Linked DNA regions of Homo sapiens: region 1 is linked to region 2. Evidence: promoter capture Hi-C in human tissues and cell types (Jung and others, 2019). All regions are on one chromosome and are shown on one strand. The core of a region is centred on a gene start or on the middle of the fragment in contact, and the rest is flanking DNA. Distances in the headings are between cores, read along the strand shown.

What was found. Contacts are between HindIII fragments. The study calls those that stand out against the background at their distance.
Region 1: a fragment that was not itself captured here is called in contact with the fragment with the promoter of CCR5 in region 2 in 1 of the 25 tissues and cell types used here (pancreas).

The regions. Positions count from the first base shown.
Region 1 is chr3:45,910,174-45,913,741 of GRCh38, reverse strand. It overlaps a transcript of LZTFL1 not described here. Among named protein-coding and RNA genes, the nearest start is that of CCR9, 25 kb to the right of the region's middle. The HindIII fragment of the contact is 4,074 bases long and covers 1-3,568 here.
Region 2 is chr3:46,369,670-46,373,260 of GRCh38, reverse strand. CCR5 (C-C motif chemokine receptor 5) reads right to left here and starts at 2,315. Exons shown (of 2, transcript NM_001394783.1): 1 at 2,273-2,315; 2 at 1-369. The coding sequence starts at 358. CCR5AS (CCR5 antisense RNA) reads left to right here. Exons shown (of 4, transcript NR_125406.2): 3 at 1,844-2,017. The HindIII fragment of the contact is 4,319 bases long and covers 1-3,591 here.

The DNA.
Region 1 (3,568 bases), core at 521-3,020, 460 kb after region 2:
GGTCTTTGAAAATGGGTGGGGGAAAAAATGGCATCTTTACCCTAACTACTAATTAAAATTTAAGTCTTCCTTCAATTATGACTAGAGACAACATGCCACACTAGTACTAGCTAGACCTGTCACTTTGTCACCAGTAGAAATGGCAGATATTTTTGTATTACATGACAATTTCTGCAGACTCTCAAAGTATCATTTATGTTTATCTCCACTCGGAAATGAAGGTTGTCATTAGATCTGATAGATTTTATGTAATGCATTAGTAAAAAGACACATATATTACTAGTTCATATATCTGCTTTAATATTTGGAGAATTGTGTTTCAATTTAATTGGTTTGTAATTCTATTTTATTGTTTGCATTTTAAAGCATTCTGAGAAAGGGGCTATAGGCTTTGTCAGATTGTCAAAGGTGTGGATGAGGCCAAAAAAAAAAAAAAGTTAAGGATCTTTAGGTTGTGGCAGGTCCTCATGAAAAACAAGAGAAAGATCAGCTCATTGCAGCACTGGTTTGTTAATAGTAACAATAGTAGCATTGTTTAATTTGTGTAATTGTATAATTTTCTAGGCTCTTGCTGTAAGTCAGCCCACTTTTACAGATGAGGAACCAAGACCCAGGGAAGATGGTAAGTCTGAACCATTTACAGAACATATTACTGCTACTGCGTTATGCTGAGACAGCTGTAGGAGTGGTTTTCTCTAAACCATTCTCATTTTACTTGAATTTAGATTATCTGATGACTTATAAAAAGCTTTTCCATAAACCAGGATTTGCTATGGCAGCCCTTGACCTTCAGACCTTTATTATGATTGTTAATACAAAAGGCTGTATCAGTTACCTGTTGTCAGACCAAGCTGCATTATTCTGCGTTATTTGAAGTTGGATAACCTCAAAACCGTGGCTTAAATCACTGAAGATTTATTTTGCTCACGAATATGCAGGTTGACTGGGGGCTCTGGACTCTTGGTGGGCTCACTCCCTTGTCTGCCCGTGGTCAGCTACGCATTGAGGCTGTGCTCCCACATGTCTGAGGGTTGGCTGCTCATTGGCTAATCGTGGCTGGGGTTGACTCCTACATCTGTGGTCAGTTGGTCAAAGAAAGGCTGGCTAGGCTAGGATGGTCTTGGCCAGACAACTTGGCTGTACTCCATGTGGTCTCCCTGACCCCAACAGGATAGCCTGGGCTTATTCAGATGGCCACTGAGCAGGTTTCCAAGAGAGTGAGTAAAAGTGCCCGAGCTTCGCAAAGCCCAGTCTCAGACCTGGCACATCATTTCAACAGTGTTCTGTTGGTCAGAGCAAGTCACAGGCCAGCCCAGATTCCAGGTGTGGGAAAAGGGACTCCTCTGGATGGGAGGAACTGCAAAGTCACTTTATAAAGGGCACAGGGACAGTGAGGGGTAGAGAATTGGGACCATTTTTGTAATATTTCTACCAAAGAGTCTATAATCTTCCCTTCTTGCACATATTTCCACCTCAATTTTCATCTTCAGTAAAACACCCACCTTCTCCTCCAGATACACTCATACAAGTACGCAAAAACACACGCAACAATCTTCATGGCCACAATGTCTGTGATAGCAAAAAACAGGAAAGGATTTGTTCAAAGTGGGTTGGATTGAAGCAGTATATGACGGCACCCTGGGAGACTATGTGACGAACACTATTCACACCCATGCGACATTTCCTGACAAAGACGCTGGACACAGCAGTGGCTGCCTTGGCAGATGGAGCTGGTGGGGCTTTGGAGTTGGTGGCAGGAATAAGATGCTTTTACTTTTCTCTTTATACTTTTCTATGTCGTTTGAAGTATTTTTAGTAGGTGCCAGTTTAACTTTTAAAATGCGAAAACTAATTTCTAAAAAGACATTCACATCATCTTACGGCCATCTCAAATTCCCAGTAAAAAACCAAATGCCCAATTCCTATATGCTGGAGTCATTACACAGTTGTTGATGTCTTTCTGCATTCACCAAAGGGGTGACCTACTTACCAGCAAAGCTGAACGGCATAAAGCCATGAGCGGGGAGGGCCTGGGAGGAAGCCACAATATGGCCAGAGTTCCTCTTCCCCTGCCTAGGGGCTGGCCCAGCTAGGGCCCCCTGTCCTCCTGACTCAGGGCCTTTGTGAGAAGAGCTATATCCAGATCATATGGTGCAAACTGACCACTGGAACATCAGTGCTTGAACTTCAACTGGGGAGAAAGTACAACAGCCTCTAAGAGATTGGGTTCTAGAATCAGAAAGACGTGGATCCAACTCCTAGTGCCACTACCTACTTCCTCTGGCTTGGGACAAGTCACTTAGCTACTCTGTGCCTCAAAATGTGATAGCTGTTATCATTGAGAAAGACATCCACACCTTGTCCAATCCCTTTTACTCTCTTGGCTCTTTTGATTACTTCTGGGCATTAGTCAGCTAGTCAAGTTGGGGGACCGAGTGATTGGGATCATTGAAAGATGAGTTAATTTACAGAGTAGCCACCTTTGGTGATTTTAAAATATGGCCCTAGAGTTATTTGACACCCTTCCAATAAGAGGTGGAGTCTCGAGTCCCTTGACTCCGGGCTGGCCTCTGGCTGCTCTGACCAGTGGAAGAGCAGAGGGACACTGTGTGGCTTCCGGTGCCATGTCAGAAAAGGACCTGCAACTTCCCCTTGGTTCTCTTGCACAGGGGAAGCCAGCTGCCATGTAAAAGGTCTGAGTACCTTGAGCCCTCCCTGCTGAAGCTGCCGTGTGCTGGGGCCCTGCATGGCAGCCAGCATCAACTACTGGCCCTAAGCCAGTAGTTAAGCTTTCCAGTTAAGCTTTCCAGTGGCCACAGCCCCAGCCAATATCTAACTGCAGCCACATGAGAGACCCCAAGCTAAATATGCCCTGCTGAGCCCCTTCCAAATTCCCGGCTCACAAAATGGCGAATAAAATAAAATGGTTATTGTTTTTATACCACTAAATTTTGTGGCAACAGTTACCAGGACACAGCTGAATTGAATACAAGCAAGGTTCTTAGAATCACTTCTTTCATTTAATTGCAAATGAACCCAAAAGAGATCCATTTACATTTTTTTGTTGTTTTATTGGATTACTCCTGATACTTTATCATAGCAAACCTGACACAAGTTTCACCTACACATCCTCTTTCCACATCCTCACTTCCCATTGATTTGCTCCTCAGCCAATCACAGTCTGCCTTGTTGATGCCTGGGAAGCTGCTCCTAGCCAGGTCGCTGCCAGCCTCCACTCTCTCTTGACCTCAGCTCTTCCCATGCTCATGGCTACCATCTTCCGGGTAGCATCCCCAGACTTGCTCTCTGCTGATCCTCCCCTCCCAGGGGCAGCACCACCAACCACCCAAACGTGCAGATTCAAAACCCAAGTCATCCTTGATGCCTTCCTTTCTTTCAATTCTAATCTTCACCATTGTGTCTACCCCCAGAGTAAGTCAAAAGCCATCCATCTCTCTACACCACAACCACCACCGTCACTCCAACTCCGCCACCACCATCTTTTTCCTGAACAACTGCAACAGCTCCTGACTGGCATCCCTGCTTCCTTGCACCACCCCTAACCCCC
Region 2 (3,591 bases), core at 1,066-3,565:
TGATGAAGAAGATTCCAGAGAAGAAGCCTATAAAATAGAGCCCTGTCAAGAGTTGACACATTGTATTTCCAAAGTCCCACTGGGCGGCAGCATAGTGAGCCCAGAAGGGGACAGTAAGAAGGAAAAACAGGTCAGAGATGGCCAGGTTGAGCAGGTAGATGTCAGTCATGCTCTTCAGCCTTTTGCAGTTTATCAGGATGAGGATGACCAGCATGTTGCCCACAAAACCAAAGATGAACACCAGTGAGTAGAGCGGAGGCAGGAGGCGGGCTGCGATTTGCTTCACATTGATTTTTTGGCAGGGCTCCGATGTATAATAATTGATGTCATAGATTGGACTTGACACTTGATAATCCATCTTGTTCCACCCTGTGCATAAATAAAAAGTGATCTTTTATAAAGTCCTAGAATGTATTTAGTTGCCCTCCATGAATGCAAACTGTTTTATACATCAATAGGTTTTTAATTGCCTACATAGATGTCTACATTGAATTAACTCTCTTTTTGGCCAAGCAATGAAGTTTTGTAGTGAAGGGAAGGTTTGCTGCTAGCTTCCCTGTCCACTAGATGGAGAGCTTGGCTCTGTTGGGGGAATTCATGAAAGCACCATCTCACCAAATAAAATCTTGTGCTCTATAGCACCATGGAGTGAATGAAGCTTTGACAACAATTTTAAGAAACTGGGTCAAGCATGGTGCAGCTCAGCCTTTTTGTTGTTGTTGTTGTTGTTGTGAGACAGGGTCTCACTCTGTCGCCCAGGCTGGAGTGCAGTGGCACGATCATGGCTCACTGCAGCCTGGACCATCCCGGGCTCAAGCAATCCTCTCACCTCACCCCTCCAAGTGGCTGGGGACTACAGGCGCCACCACACCAAGCTAATTTTGTTTATTTTTATAGATACAAGATCACACTATGTTGCCCAGGCTGGTCTCGAACTCCTGGGCTCAAGCGATCCTCCTGCCTCAGCCTCCTAGAATGCTGGGATTACAGGCATGAGCCACCATGCCCGGCTGCAACTCAGTCTTAACATTTTTATTGACGCTAGAGTTAGCCCACAAAGAACATGCACTATGAGCAAGCCAGTAATAATTAAGAGGCCTCGAGGGCACATACTGGATGCCAATCACTGTTCTAAGCATCATACCCATTCATTCATTTAATCCTTAGGGCAACCTTATGAGGCAGGAAATATTTTTCACATTTTGCAGACAAGGACCTTGAAGCACAGAGAGGGTGAGTAACTTGCTCAAAGCCACACAGCTAGTAAGCAACCGATTTTGAATGCGGGAAGCCTGCACTCTTAACTACCATGCTACCCTCCCTCTCAGTCCTCGAAAAGAGAATTAAAAGGCAAGACCATCAGATGTTTGGTGACATGATGTAGTCAGAGTGAAATGGCCGGGTGCCCAAGTCCCAGGGAAGGTCATAGATGACAACAGCCAATTGTAAAATCCTCACATTTTCTGTGAAGTTTGTGTTTGTAGTTTCTGAGTTGCCACAATTAAGAGTTGTCATACATACCCAAGAAATAATATAATAAAAAATGTTTCGTCTGCCACCACAGATGAATGTCATGCATTCTGGGTAGTTTAGTCTTATAACCAGCTGTCTTGCCTAGTCTATTTAAGTTCAGCTGCTCTAGCTGAGAATTTTCTCTTATTAAACCCTGTGAGTCTCAAACTCCCTGCACCTTAGACTAGGCAGCTGAGAGAAGCCCCTAGAAAAGCTCATTTTTAATTTTGAACCATAAAGAATTATATACTAACTGTGCCATGAAACTGATATATTAGAGGAAAATTTTATTTGGCGTTTGTAATTTAATATTAATTTTGACCATTTTTAGGCTTCCCTCTTGTCTGGAGGAAAAAGAAAAAAGAGAACCAGACTTAGACACAACTTCTTGTGGGCACATATTCAGAAGGCATCTCACTGGAGAGGGTTTAGTTCTCCTTAGCAGAAGATAAGATTTCAAGATTTCAGCTAAGACTCATCTCTCTGCAAATCTTTCTTTTGAGAGGTAAGGATTGTTAGTTATTAAAATACTATTGCTCCCTTTAAAGTCTTTCACTCACAATCATGTTTTGTATCTTTGATGTTATAACCGTCTGAAACTCATTCCAAACTGTGACCCTTTCCTTATCTTAAAGATTATATTTTAAGATAATTGTATGAGCACTTGGTGTTTGCCAAATGTCTTCTATGGGTTTCCTGTAAAGTCTTTTACTCATCTCAGAAGCTAACTAACAGGCCAAGCAGCTGAGAGGTTACTTACCGGGGAGAGTTTCTTGTAGGGGAACGGATGTCTCAGCTCTTCTGGCCAGATGAGCTGTGCAAATCAATCATATAGACAGTATAAAAGTAGGAAATGCTGTTTCTTTTGAAGGAGGGTGGAGTTAAATCATTAAGTGTATTGAAGGCGAAAAGAATCAGAGAACAGTTCTTCTTTTTAAGTTGAGCTTAAAATAAGCTAGAGAATAGATCTCTGGTCTGAAGGTTTATTTACGGGCTTTTCTCACTGGATTATTTTGTTTTTGTTCTCTGCTCATCCCACTACACAGAATCTGTTAGAAAATATAAAGAATAAAGGATATCAGAGCTAGAAGAACATTTACATTCATCTAGTCAAAAGCCCACATTTTAGTAAAAGAAATTACTATCCAAGAAGCAAATGATTTGTACAAGATCACAGGGCTTTTCAACAGTAAGGCTAAAAGGTTAAGAAAATTCTGATTATCTTAAGAGTTGCTATTAATTAAAGCCAACTTAAACCAACTTTAAATGTAGAGGGGGATCCTGGACTTCACATTAACCCTGTGTCCCCTTTTTCTCCACTCTCCCCGTATCCCCTATCCCACCCCAACCCCCACACAGATGCTCACCACCCAATATTATTGTTCTCTGTAAACGGAAACAACCTGTTGTCTAAAGAGTTTTAACTATGGGCTCACGGGTGAGCTAAACAGGTTTCCCATCTTTTTCTGGACCCAGGATCTTAGTGGGGATTTTCACTCTGTTCACTATTTTGTTGCCCTTCAAACCAGTAAGCATTTATGAGGACTCACACTATGCCAGATACATAGGTGGCAGGATTCTTCACTCCAGATATAATCTATCTGAAGCTATGAGAAATTTTCCACATGACATAAGTATATGGTCAAGTTCAGGTTCTTTATGACTATACTATATACAGTCATATCAAGCTCTCTTGGCGGTTGGTGACATCTGAAAATCTCAAGTATTGTCAGCAGAGCTGAGAAGACAGCAGAGAGCTACTCCCGAGCCACAAGATGCCCTCTGGGCTTCCGTGACCTTGGCTCTAGAATAAAAAGCTTTGGCTTGTGATCTCTAAGAAGGCAAATGAGACCCCAAACAGCAAAATTACGTGCCCCCAATCCTACAGAGGCAGACTAACCCAGGGGCTAAGCCAGTGGCCTCTGTAGTCAGACTGCCAAGCTTGAAACCTGTCTTACCCTCAGCTTTCTCGTCTGGGTATTGGGCTGAATGACAGTAGTCATTTCATGAGTTGTTGGGAGGATTCTATGAGGCATCCACGGCCAGCATCTAGCACATACTATGCACTCAGTAAACATC